3 separate regions of the Homo sapiens genome follow, and regions 2 and 3 are each linked to region 1. The links are contacts of gene promoters, found by promoter capture Hi-C in blood cells and fetal thymus (Javierre and others, 2016). All regions are on one chromosome and are shown on one strand. The core of a region is centred on a gene start or on the middle of the fragment in contact, and the rest is flanking DNA. Distances in the headings are between cores, read along the strand shown. Region 1 holds the start of STARD6 (StAR related lipid transfer domain containing 6). Region 2 overlaps TXNL1 (thioredoxin like 1). Region 3 overlaps WDR7 (WD repeat domain 7).

What was found. The method cuts DNA at HindIII sites, captures the fragments that hold promoters and counts their contacts. A CHiCAGO score of 5 or more calls a contact.
Region 2: a contact is called between a fragment that was not itself captured here and the fragment with the promoter of STARD6 in region 1, in 2 of 17 cell types (total B cells and fetal thymus). The highest score is 5.4, in total B cells.
Region 3: a contact is called between a fragment that was not itself captured here and the fragment with the promoter of STARD6 in region 1, in 1 of 17 cell types (total B cells). The highest score is 5.5, in total B cells.

Annotation. Positions count from the first base shown.
Region 1 is chr18:54,355,045-54,359,501 of GRCh38, reverse strand. STARD6 (StAR related lipid transfer domain containing 6) reads left to right here and starts at 1,644. Exons shown (of 8, transcript NM_139171.2): 1 at 1,644-1,710; 2 at 3,058-3,141. C18orf54 (chromosome 18 open reading frame 54) reads right to left here and starts at 1,596. Exons shown (of 9, transcript NM_001288980.2): 1 at 1,427-1,596; 2 at 632-728. RefSeq lists enhancers at 1,010-1,079, 581-1,092. The HindIII fragment of the contact is 3,120 bases long and covers 1-2,781 here.
Region 2 is chr18:56,625,116-56,630,018 of GRCh38, reverse strand. It overlaps TXNL1 (thioredoxin like 1), which reads left to right. Exons shown (of 8, transcript NM_004786.3): 2 at 3,562-3,658. Among named protein-coding and RNA genes, the nearest start is that of TXNL1, 11 kb to the left of the region's middle. The HindIII fragment of the contact is 7,386 bases long and covers 1-4,903 here.
Region 3 is chr18:56,700,901-56,705,397 of GRCh38, reverse strand. The region is part of intron 12 of WDR7 (WD repeat domain 7); the gene reads right to left. Among named protein-coding and RNA genes, the nearest start is that of WDR7, 52 kb to the right of the region's middle. The HindIII fragment of the contact is 2,236 bases long and covers 2,050-4,285 here.

The DNA.
Region 1 (4,457 bases), core at 395-2,894:
TTAAATAAGAGACAAAGTAAAACATCATCCTACCACAGCGTTAGAGCATGCAATGGCCATTACAAGAGATCTGACCGTGGTCAGTGCAAATGGCAGAACATAAGGTAACAGTTGTTTCGTCTCATTGATTTATCTGAATTCTGTAATACTGGTATATCTCTGACGAATGGCTAAACTAAGCCAGCTTTACCTTTTTCGTATCCCTTTTATTTAAAGAAGTTTAAACTCACTCAAGTAAATTTGTTTGGATAAGCCTGACCAAATGTTTTCTGTCTTTGAATGCCGAACAGGCTACTGATTTTATTTTACAAAACCTTGAAAGAGAAAGCTGTTGTATTGGTCTCCGTAAGTGGGTGATAACATTTACTAGTTATTTCAACTCACAGGACAGACAAAAAGAAAATGCACAATTTAAGTTTCATTATGAAAAGTTTTCCAACTTTTCCCCAAAAGAGTATACAAAAGTAGAATCGTTCAATAAACCCCTATGTACTCATCATCCTGCTTCCAACAATCGCTGAACAGACCCCAATTGTAGCTAAAGTGGGTAGGGACCCACCCACTTCTCCCCACTTCAGCCACAGGATTATTTTGAACCCCACATATCTCATGCAAATCCCATATATCTTACCATTTCCTCCGTACAGGCTTCAGTTCGAATCTCCAAAAGAAAATCCATCACGCGGAAGAACAGAATGTTAAACTTATTGACAACAAATTTTAACTAACTTTGATTCAAAAACAGAATGTTCAGTGTTAAATAGCCAATGGGAATATCGCACAGGAAATTAAGAACAACTCTTGGAAATAGCTCTGTGACTGCTAAGTTAGGAAAGGGAACGTTTGTTTACTCGGCAGCAGAAAACCAGGAACCCACCGACCGGCCAGCGAAGGTCGCCCGTCTCCAGCAGTGCGCATCGTTCCCCTACCCCGGGCGCCCTGAATTCCAATTTTTCCAGTCCCAATCAGGCGACACCCTCCCTTTGGTGTTCCACCGCCCGTCAGTCACAGACACAGACAAGTTCTTCAGTGAGATGCTTTTCACTCCGAAACCATTTATTCAGCAGCCAGGGCGAGCGCAGCAATGGACTGAAGGAGAAGTGTTCCGAAGCGACAGCCCCAGAGCGCAAGCCCCTTCCTGTCGCCGCCTCAGGTCCGCAGACGCCCGTGTGAGCCCCCTCCGCCGCGTCCCGCGACCCTCCCTCGCCCAGGGGGCACTCCCCCTACAGTGTTCTTCCTTCCACAGAGACTCCACAAGCGCCCTCCCTCAGGAGACGTCTCCTCCTCTTTCCTCGCCACTCTCCTTTCGCCTTTTCTCGGCTGTCACAGGATGGGACAACCCTCGAAAAGACACCCTCCTTTCCGTCCTAACTCACCCCTAAGGCCCCAAAATAAAAATAAAGGAAAACAAAAACAAAAACCGCACACTTCCACAGCTCTCCGCCGAAAGCTCAGGCCTGTTACCCAACGCGAGACACCACAAAGCATCCCCAACCCGGACACCGCCCCGCCTCAGGCTCGGCTCACTCGCAGCTTCCTCCGCAGTCACAGCAGAGCTCGACACCCGCGCTCGCTTTCAAACCGCCCCAACATGGCGCCGGCCTGCGGTGCGCATGCGCGGCAGTGGGGCGCCGGGCGCGAGCGGAGATGAGGGAGCGGCCGGAGAAGAGAGGATGCTGTTGAGCGTTAGGTCGCGACCCCTGCTGGAAGGTGCTGTTTCTCCCTCCTTTCTGGGGCTGGGAATGGGGGGATGTGGGCTGCATCCAAGTCGCTGCCCCCCACGCCCTTCCAACCTCCGTCACAGCTATTCTCGGCCAGTTTGCGCGGGGACTTGCTGATCTCCCTTCAGCCGGCCCCGGGGTCTGCGGGAGGGGACTGGGTGGGGAGGGAGACTTAAGGGCGCTGGCGGCTGTCGTTCCGGTCGCTGAGAGTCTGCCCCACAGCTCCAGTTTTTCCAAGTGAGTTCAGCCTCCCCGCTTCCAGAGCATCCCCCGCCAAAAATAAGATATCGTCTCAGCTAGTAGGCAGTCCCCCCTCACCACTTCTTTCACTCCCTCTTCAGTGCCTTTCCTCTCACACCCCGGAGCCTCTCACACACAAAGCAGATGGGAGATTGGAGACCCGAGTTTAGCCAGGGATGGGATTTAACAAACTCCTAGGAAGCCTTGATTCCCAGGGAAGAATGGCAGTGACCCCGCACGGATTGGGGACCCAGTCAGGCAGCTCAGAAAGAGGGTCATTGTACAAACAGATGTAAAGACTCACTAACATGTGTGAACCTGTCTGTAAGTCTGGAAGGAATCCAGTTTCAACCAATTGGTGTATCAAAAAAAGAGGCCATCCCAATGTTGGTTTATGTTTATTTTCCACTGACCCTATGAGTGAAGATATCCTTGACCATGAGTCCATCTGAATATGTTCCAGCTCATCCGACGTTCCACCACCATGTAATACAATTGTAGTCTTACTGTTTGCACTTTCTTCTTTTTACCCTTTGTAGCCTACTAAATTTTACCTTCCCTTTTCTCTTAGCAAATGAAAAAGTCCGGAAGCTATAACGTTCAGTTTAGTGGTTAAACACAGGTCTATTGTGGCAGTAATAGTTGGTGATTTGAAAATAAGACATACCCTGCTAGTGGTATGTCCCAATAATCTTCAAAGTCTCTAGATCAATTAATATCAAGTAGGTTTCCAATAGGAAATCAAGAACGGTGTTTTATATGCTAAGACGAGCCCTGGTCGGGGATTAACAATCCTTGTTAATTGTTAGTGACGTAAGCTTAAAAACTTAAATTTTTGTATCCACGTTCCACCTAAGTGTCTTTTTAAACTGAGTTCCTTTAAAATAGTTTCTTAAAGATTCTTTTTATAAACAGTATCTTTTAAAGTTTTTTGTACTATATTTTTCTTTCATCTTGGGGCATATATGTAGCAAATGTTTCCTAATGAAGACAAAGTATAGATAAAGGACACTGAGAAGATATAAAGAAAATTATCAAATATATTGACCTAATTCATGGATCAAAATAATTCTACTTCTGCCTTGTTTCCTCACAGGTTAAGAGATATGGAGATTTCCACAAGGATTTGGAGAGGAGCCCCAGTAGTTACTAAAATTCTGCATTAGATCTGTCAGGAAAGGTAAAGAAACCAGGACTCTGCTAGGAAAGAGGAGGTTATAATAATGGTTTACTAAAACTTTTCAAATATAGAGACTATCAACTACCTGTTGTGCCTTGCTGGAGAATTAAATAAGAGAAAATAGATTTATGATCCAACCTGAAGAGTTTTAAGTGAGAGCTAAGGAAGAAATGTTCCAATAATTAAACTTTAAGAAGGTTTATTTAAGTGCTTAAGGAAGCAGATCTTTGGAGAGTTTTTTAAATGATGGATTTATATGTGTCCATTTTTTTAAAGAGAAACTAACTATTTTGATAACCTAGTATAGGGCTCCACACTGTTTAAAGCATTTTTACATATATTAACTCAACTAATCCTTATAATGATTCGGTGAGATAGATATTATTATCCCCATTCTATAGATATGGAAGTTGAAGTTCAAAGGTTAAGCAATTTATCCAAAATAATATAGCTGTACTAAGTGACAAAGTCAGGATTTGAATCCAGTTCTGTTTTCACCTTACCTGCCAGCTTCCCCTAACTGAAAGCTGGATGATGACCCGAAGGACCAGTGAGACTGCAGCTTCCGGAACTCATTCACAGCAGTAATAGTTATGTCTAGTATCTTACTCAACTGTTGTTGCTACATCTACCACAGTGCCTGTCTCAGTCCTTTTGGGCTGCCATAAGAAATTACCAAAGACTGAATGACTTGTAAACAATAAATTTATTTCTCAGAGTTCTGGATCCTGGAAGTCTGAGATCTGGGTGCCAGCATGGTTAGGTTCTGGTGAGGGCCCTCTTCTGGTTGCAGACTGCTAACTTCTGGCAGTGTCCTCACATGGAAGAAGGGGCCATTGAGCTCCCTGGGGTCTCTTTTGTGAGGGCACTAATCCCATTCATAAGGGCTTTGCCCTCATGACCTAATCATCTCCTAATATCACCCTGGGAGTTAGGATTTCAACATATGAATTTTAGGGAGACATAAACATTCAGTCCATTGCAGTTTCTAACTTCAAGCAGGGTTCAATGTGTTTAAATTGAGTTGATTTAAACTTGATCCTATCTGAGGAGGTGACATTTAAGCAAAGATACCTATGAAACAGTCAGTTATATGAACACATTGCAGAAGACAGTGACAAGCAGAAGGAACAGCAAGTACAAAGAACCTGAAGTCAGAAATTGCTTTATTGTATGTGAGGAACAGCCAGGAGATCAAATGATTGGAGCTAAGTGGACAAGAAGAAGACTGGTAGGAGGTATATTTGAAGAGGAAGCCAGGGGTCAGATCGTGTAGTGCCACTGCTACGCACTTTAAATAATCCTCAAGAACACAT
Region 2 (4,903 bases), core at 1-2,500, 2.3 Mb before region 1:
CCTTGTTGGCCAGGCTGGTCTTGAACTCCCACCCTAAAGTGATCCACCTGCCTTGGCCTCCCAAAGTGCTGAGATTACAGGCATGAGCCATCATCGGGCCCAGTCTGGTTACTATCTTTCTTACTGATCTTGTTACAAAATTGCATGGGTTTCAAGTAGTTTGCCAACAAACTTATTTTTCCCATAAATTCTCTCTTTTTGGTGTGTGTTTTTGCAGGAGGGTGGTTTTCATGAATGGATATATTGTACTATAGAATGGATACCTCTGTAATTTGTGACACCTGTGTAAATGCAGTTAACACTAAATTCTTCTCAACTCATTTAATATTTTAAAATGAAAATACCTATTCATCACAAAAAAGCAAAGGATGCAGAATTATGGATACTAACTGTTCATTGTGCCTGTCTCTGTCTTTTTACCCCCTATGCATTTATATATATACATAGGTTTGAAATGTGATCCTAGAGAACATTTTATAATGAGACTTTCTTCCCCCCTAAACACTGCAAAGTATCAGGCTGGGGTGCAGTGGTGTGATCTTGGCTCACCGCAACCTCCGCTTCCCGGGTGCAAGTGATTCTCCTGCTTCAGCCTTCTGAGTAGCTGGGATTACAGGCATGCGCCACCATGCCTGGCTAATTTTTGTATTTTTAGTAGAGATGGGGTTTCACCATGTTGGCCTGGCTGATCTAGAACTCCTGGACTCAAGTGATCCGCCCATCTTGGCCTCCCAAAGTGCTGGGATTATAGGCGTGAGCCAGCGTGCCTGGCCCCTGTCATAACTTTTTAAACTAGTTTTCCATTAATTGCCATTTAAGTTGTTTTCTAACTTTACTATTACAAACATGTTACATTGAACTTCCTTATACTACATGTTATTGTGAAATAGAGTAAGTGTTGTTAAAATGGAATAGACTTTCAAAAGGGCAATTATTGGGTCTTGGCTTGTGTTCATCTAAAATGAATAGATATGACCCAATCAGTGGCCTTTGAAAAACAGTGTAGTGATATATATTCCCATTTATAAAGTTTAAGACTAATTTTAGTTGACTGTAAATATTATTTTCTTAGATTTTTGGTGTATGGCTTTCAGGATAACACAAGGTGAAATGCTGATTGAAATGTTAAGAATGTGGAGTTGATCACAACTTGAGTTTTAACATTTGTTTTTATTTTGTGCATTAGATTTGCTTTTTCTTGCATTTCTTATTTCTGCAAACTTTTATTGAGACATACATGGCACACAATTAGAAATGTATAGTTCAATTAATTTTCACAAACTGAACACACCTATTTAATCAGCTTCCAGACAAACAAAACATTGCTAGCCTCCAGAAGTCTTATTCTATCAGTAACTCACTAAGGTAACCATTGTCTTGATTTCTGATACCATTGATTGGTTTTGTCTGTATTTGAACTGTATGTAGTCATATAGTATATGCTAGTAGTTGCTTTCTTTCCTCAATGTTATTTGTGAGGTTCATCCATGTTTTTGCAAGAGGTTTTATACCAGTTATTTTCATTATTGTGTAGTATTTCATTGTATAACTATAATTAGCTTACCCATTCTTTTGTTGATAAGAATTTAATTGTTTCTGATTTTTGACTCTTAGAACTATTACTAATAATACTTTTTCAAATGTTCTAAGGTGAACATGTGTCTTAGATGTATTCCCCAGGAATTTTGATGGGTTGGTGTATTTTAGCAGTTTGGTTTTTTTCCCTCCAAAATGGTTAATACCAGCTTGCACTCTCACAGTATATAAAAGTTTAGTTGCTCTGCATTCTTGACAATACTTAATTCTTCTTGTAGCTATTTTTGCTGAGTTGGTTTTAATCTGCATTTCCCGGGTATCCCTGATGACTAATGAAGTAGAACATCTTTCCTGCTTTATAGAAAGTTTTTGACTTTATTTATTGACTGTTTGGATAATCTCATTTGTCAAGTACCTATTCAAGGGTTCATTCTTTTTCTTTTGGGTTTCAGTCTTCTCCTTGTTTTGTAGGAGTTCTTTACGTATTAGAAGTATAAGTCCTTTGTTTGATATGTTTTGCAAATACTTTTTCCTAGTCTCTTAAAGACATTTTTTGATGAATAAAAGGTTTTAATCTTCCAGTTTATCAAATATAGTCCAGTCTGTCAAACCTTTTTTTTTTTTTAGTACTTCTTGTGTTTTGTATAAGAAATCATTGCTTAGTTTGAGGTTTTGAAAGTGTCTTCCTGTATTTTTTCCTAAAACCCTCCTTGTTTCACCTTTTACATTTAGATCTACAACCCATCTGGAATTGGTTTTTGTGTATGGTGTGTTGAGATTCATTTCTTTTCCTGTATGAGTATATAGTTGATCTAGCAGTATTTATTGAAAAGACCATCCTTTTCCCACTGCAATGCTACATCAAGTTTTTCAGACATCAGAGTACTGTATGTGAGATGGGTCTGTTTCTAGACTCTTCTTTCAAAGGAAAACTGATTTGATCATTTTGCTTATTCTTGTACAAGTACTATATTCTCTTAATAAAGGTTTATGATAGTTCTTAAGATCTGATAATATAATTTTTTCAGATTAGAACCTCAAAACGACTTGGGCTGTCCTTGGCATTTCTCTATAATTTTTAGAATGGAAATTTGTTAATTTCTACAAGAAAACCTGCTGAGATCTTACATCAGTTGTAAAGATCAAATTGAGTAAAATTGGTATCTTGGCAATATTGAGTTTCAAATTCATAAGCAGAGTAAATTCCTCCATTTATTTAGGTTTTCTTTAATTTCTCTCAGTGAGAACAAAGCTAGAAGACTTAACACTATTAGTTATGAAGACTAAATGTAACATCTGGGCTCATTAAGACAGTATAGTATTGATACAAGTATATGTAAATAACTTACTCAAATAGACCAGAGAATCAGGCCTAGGGTTATGGTTCATGCCTGTAATGTCTGCACTTTGGGAGGCCCAAGGCAGGAGGATCACTTGAACCCAGGAGTTTGAGACCAGCCTGGGCAATATAGTGAGACCCTGCTTCTCAAAAAAAAAAAAAATGTAGCTTGGTAGCTGGGTGTGGTGGCATGCACCTGTAGTTGCAGCTACTTGGAAGGCTGAGGTGGGAGGATTGCTTGAGCCTGGAAGATTGGGACTGCAGTGAGCCATGATCATGCCACTGTACTCTGGCCTGGGTTATAGAATGAGACCTTGTCTCCAAAAAAAAAAAAAAAAAAAAAAAAGACCGGCTTGGTGGCTCACGCCTGTAATCCCAGCACTTTGGGAGGGGCCAAGGCAGGTGGATCACCTAAGGTCAGGAGTTCGAGACCAGCCTGGCCAACCCAGTGAAACCATGTCTCTACTAAAAATACAAAAATTAGCTGGGCGTGGTGGTGGGCGCCTGGAGTACCACTCTGGCCGACAGAGTGAGACTCTGTCTAAAGCAAAAAACAAAACAAAACAAAAAAAACAGAGAGTCAAAAGCCAGCAGTATCAGTGTTTGTTCTATTTTATGTTTAATTGACGAGTGCTTTAGAATTACAATCTTTAGTGTTATTTTACTTAATTTTCCTTTTCTAACAGGTGTGGGCCATGTTTGAGGATTGCCCCAGCATTCAGTTCTATGAGTAATAAATATCCACAGGCTGTTTTCTTGGAAGTCGATGTACATCAGTGTCAGGTAAGGGAAAGGAATCTTTTTTCTTTTTAATTTACTTTTGAATAAATTTGAAATCCAACATTAATATTCTTCATTTATCTCTTGATGCACATAGTACTTATTCCTTTGAAGATAGGAAGATGTTATGTTGATGTCATTATTACAGATGTCATTATGGCTGCATTAGTTAAGAAGAGTAGCACATTATTAATTGCTTCAGGTTTGTATTAATCACCTTCTGATATAAAATTAATACGATGTTGTTAATAGGTCACCTAGCAGTTCTGTGTATTACATTTCCTTATGTTTTGCAAACCTAGAATTATATCTTCTACCCCCGAGGTATTGGCATTATATAGCAGTGGCAAGGAGTTCTTGGTTGTAGTTTGAATTGATCAGTTTGTTATCTTATCTCCAAATGGACACACTGAGCAGAAACTTTAAAATGGTGATTATTGTTGATTGAGCCACAGTGTTGTAGGTGAATTGCCCTGATTATTTAGTTGGAATGGTATGTGGCAGTTCTGTATTTGTATATGCAGAAATGTGGGGAATTGTTAAGGGAAAAAAAAATTGGAAAGCTCCTTCCAATACTAAAAAGTAGAGTCTTTAGTTCTAACTAAGGAACAACTCTATAGCTCTGCAGCTTTATCTTTGTTAAATTTCTGAGTGTGGAAAAAATTTTAGAATATTATGTAGTGTGTAGTTACTTTGGGGGTTTGTTGAAAACCCTACATTACACACATTTATGTTTCAGCACTTAGTTGCATGTTATTGCACTATATCATTGGCCCCTGATTTAATCACTATTTCTAGAATGAAAATGCTTTTCTCCTGGAGCTGTTCTGTCAGGTATTGTAACCACTGGCTATGTGTGGTTACTGAGCACTTTAACTGTGACAAATTCATATTGATATGTACGGAAAGTATAAAATACAGATCAGATTTTAAAGACAGTATAAAAAATGTAAAATATTGCATTATCTTTTTATGTTGATTAGATTGAAAATGGATATATTAGATTTCCTGTAATATTAAACTTGATTTTACTTATTTTGCTTTTTTAATATAGATAATAGAAAATTTACAATTGCATGTGTAGCTCACATGTGCTACATATCCATTGTTTTGGGCAGCACTTTCCTGAAAGGTCATAGTTTTTTCACCTAGAGGCTTTGAGAAGACATTCCTGTGTTATCTTTATGTTCTTTTTCTTTAAAAAGTATAGTAGTGACTTTCATAATATTTGAATATATAAGGTGCCAT
Region 3 (4,497 bases), core at 1,918-4,417, 2.3 Mb before region 1:
TTGAAAAACCCCTTTCCATAAGATTTATCATACTCCTTTATAACTGCTGTTTGCTGGTCTGGCTCCCTCATTAGACTAAATATTACAAAAAAAAAAAAGATATCTTATCCCTATCTCTGGTTCTAGAAAGTGCCTGAAATATGGCAGATAGTCAGATATTTGCCCAATGAATGTCTAATCAAAAATATGTTGCACCAAACTGAATACTACACTTAAAAGGTAATTCATTTCTTCCTAGCAATTTTTGCCATTTAAAAATATAGAGAGCAGTGCATGGTGGCTCACACCTGTAATCCTAGCACTTTAAGACGCCAAGATAGGAGGATCACTTGAGGCCAGGAGTTCAATGCCAGCCTGGGCAACATAGCAAGACTTCATCTCTAAAAAACAAAAATTAAATTAAAAAAATGAAATGTAAACTCATTTTGAAATTGTCCTATGATTGTGTTACTCAAGAAAAATTAGTTGTTGTGTAATACTTTCTCTCCAGTCCAAAATAAAAAGTCAATTTAATCAGCTACTTCATTCACTAGGTTTAGCATGAAATCACTTCTGACCATTATTAAAAGTAAATTTCATGCCTAATCAGCAATATGATTTAAGATTTTAAGGAATCTTTCCAAAATGTAAGAATTTCTAATTTTTTAAAATGTTTGGCATGATATCAGCACAGTCAGCTAAGGATGCAGTCTTTCTCATTACTGTTAAAGGGGCCTCTCACTGCCAGTCCCTTAGCACTGAGTTTTCTGGCCTCCTACACAAGAGACAGGTGTAAGACATTAAATTGCAGTTTTGCCATTAAAATAACAAAAATTACTTGCACAACCTAATATTTGAATGTATACATAATATTCATAGCATGACAGGGTCTCACTCTGTCACCTAGGCTGGAGTGTAATGGCGCAATCATGCCTCACTGCAGCCTTGAACTCCAGGGCTCAAGCAATCCTCTCACCTCAGCCTCCCAAGTAGCTAGAACTATATGCCCATGTCACCAAACCCAGCTTTTTTTTTTTCTTTTTTGATAGAGACAGGGTTTCACTATGTTGCCCAGGCTGGTCTTGAACTCCTGGCATCAAGTGATCCTCCCAGCTTGACCTCTCAAATTGTTGAAATTACAGGTGTAAGCCACCATGCTCAGCCTCAACTTTTTATCTTTAAACAATAGTATAGAATAGTAGTACAAATTTGGAAAACATAAAATTATCAAGAATATAAAACCAACCAGAATGTACAACTAATATAGTATTGGTAATATTAATACATTTGTGCTTTAAAATGAACGTGAGAGCTATAGTTACATATGCTCTACATACAGCTGCTTTCAAGACTAGAAAATTAGCAAGGCTTAAAAGATTATAAACAGGATGATGAAGGATTACGGTAGTAAAATGGTGACTGTACAAACCTATTCCTCATTGTTTGAAGAGCAATTTGACAATACCTGTTCAAAAGCCTTTAAAAATTAATATGCCCTTTTTTATAGCAACTCCAAGTATAAGAACTTATCCTAAGAAACCATTCTAGAGCTACAAAAATATTTAGCTGTACTAATTATCATTCCCACCGTTGATAACAGGCAAAAAAAAAAACTTTAAAGCAACATTCTAAAATGTCCAATAAAAATGAATTACAGAGTATCATTTAAAATGATGTTGTAGGAATATTCTTAGTGACAAATATGATGTCTTTAGAAAATATCTCTATTTTCTATAACTATGTATTATTTAATTTTTAAAAATAAAATTAATATCAAAAAGATGGTGCCAAATACATAAAAATATATGAAAATGTTCTCAAAATCAAAGAGAATTAAGTGTTAAAGGAAAAAGGATGACACAGAACATTATGTACATTGTATTTTAAGAAAATAATGTTAGTTCTGCTTCCTGTTTTTGCTTAGTTTGTATTCACAAAGTTTGCTCTGCTTGACTTCAGATATTAAGCTATAGGTATAGACATTGCTTTTTAAATGCAATATTCAAATTAAATTAATAACAAAAATCTAGAATCAAAAATGGGAGATAAGAGCAAATTCAGGCAAAAGCTTTCAGTACTTTGTCAGAATAATAGTATGATATATTAAAAAGAATATCTAATTTGTCAATTGCCCTTACTGGCTGTGAACATTAGCCACACTGGTATACACACAGTCACGTGTTCCATTCATATTAGCATACCTGTTTCTAGGAGCCGGGAATCTAATACTGGTTTTAATACTGTCAATTGAAGGCACAAACACTAGTGTTCAGGTTAGATGACGCACATTCCTGTTTTCACAAATCCATGCTGCCCCCTTCTGGGTATTTTTGGAGATTACGTGACCAAAAGTTTAATATGATAAATTAAACAAAAAGTATTCATTCTTTAACTAATATATTAAAGAACTTAGCCTATATGCTTACATGTAGAAACATATCACTGGTACTAAACAGTTTATTTTTCGGCATTTTCGAAAACTTCTGTTCTGAATAATTCTAACAACAGAAAGACAGCTCTGAGAATTTAATCGTCAATGTAAATGAGGAAAATAAATAGTAAATATTAAATAGCTATAATACTAAAAGTAAATAAAACATGACACTTTAATAAGTTTCCCTACTCCTTCCTCTCACTCTCAAAAGTAAACCAGGGTCTGAATTTGGCACTAGCTTTCCCTTCGGTTTTAATATTTTTACTACCTATACATGTATCCAAAAATATGCAGTATGGATTTGTGTTTTTAAAATGTAAATAAATGGTATCACACTGTATTACACACACAAAGGTTTCATACCACAAACTGTACTTCTAAATCCAGCTACCTACCACAATTGAAAATCAACTAAGAAAATATGGATAGTTTCATGTAAAATATCACCACAATTCAATAAGTTGGCAATATTATACTGGGTGATTAGTGTTATTTTTTAATTCATGAATTTTCACTGCTGTCAATCATATCTATCTGGTTTGTTAAGGAAAATGTTTTATAACGTACTCTTGATATATTAAAATAATTTTATTCCCTCAGTATTTTTTCCAAAACCTAGTTTCTTTCTCTAAGAGTAACCTATGTGGAAATACAAGAAAAAGTGCCTGGATCTTGGACAATAGACTCTTTAAAGCTAAAATCTATAATAAAAGGAGAACGATAAGCAACAGGGAAAGGTAAAATAAACTGGGAGGGAGGTGGAAGGGACGATGTCAGATCATCTCATCTGTAACTACATAATTCTAATGATGGAGCGTTGGAGGAAGTTTCCTGCCGCAGCACTCCAAAGGCATTAAAAATATCTGCCTTCCCTTTCACCAGCTCTCTTCAGATTCCCCAGGCAACTGGTACACTCTTGGCCTCCCCTATCCCAGAGTTCAGATTTTGCTAATTCACCCAAGTCTACCTCTCACAACTACTCCAATCTGAAAATCATTCTCTCTCTAACCACGCTGTGTTGTGTAAATTTTGTAGTTGTCAGAATAAAATTAAGCTAATATTCTATAGTTCTGAAGCATTAAAACACTGTAAAATTGAAAATATCTGAAGGATTAATAAGACATTGCACTCAAGGTTAAGGGAACCAAAAAGCTGGAGAACAGGAGAGAAAGGGAGACTTGCACTTCCTTAGTAATATTTATACCTTTTGCATTTTATACTATGTGCATCACTACCTATTTATGAAATATTTTAAGGTACCATAGTAAACAGTCCAAGTACAGATGAAAAGTTAATAGCCCAGTTTAAATTTTAGCTGTTTTTAAAAAAAAGTTTCTAATACATCTCCTATATCTAATATTTGAAGTGGCAATATAATTTAATAACAACATAAAAAGCTCGAGTTTAAATTTGAATCCTATTAAAATTCATAAGAACTGTCACATCTGAATAGCAATAAATCATGAGAAAACCACTCATTTAAAAATAATAAACATAACTTGGAATGATAAAAATGGTATAGGACTTTATATCTGTCATATAATTTTTATACTGTGAACAGCTTTATTTCAAGCAAATGATATATAGTAGTTTGTTTTATCAAGAAACTGAACCTTTATATACTCTTAAAAAAACAGAAATGGCAAATAACCTAATATTAGAAACCTCAAAACCACAGATTCCAACACCTCTCAAGAAGTCAATATGTAGTTAGTCAAACCTCTCAGGTCTTTTCAAGTAGTTTACCAAAGCTCCTTGTTTCTCTGGGTACCTATAATACGCCCTTGCCATCATCACCAAAACATTTGTGATTTATAGTCTGCCTGTACCAGGCTTAAATACTTACCTTATCCTCCTTCTAAAATGTAAGCTTATATTTCTTGGAACATTTAAACACATTACTTCCTCAACTGTTCTCAATAACCCTTCAGAACTACACAATCCTGAATTATTTCAAAATTTTATATCTTAAAGGGTACCTTCAGATTTTTTAATTTTCTTACATTTTAATTCTTTAAAATAATCCGTATCAGGTAAAAGCTAAATATCAGTTAACCAGACTATTCAACGAATCAATACTGAAT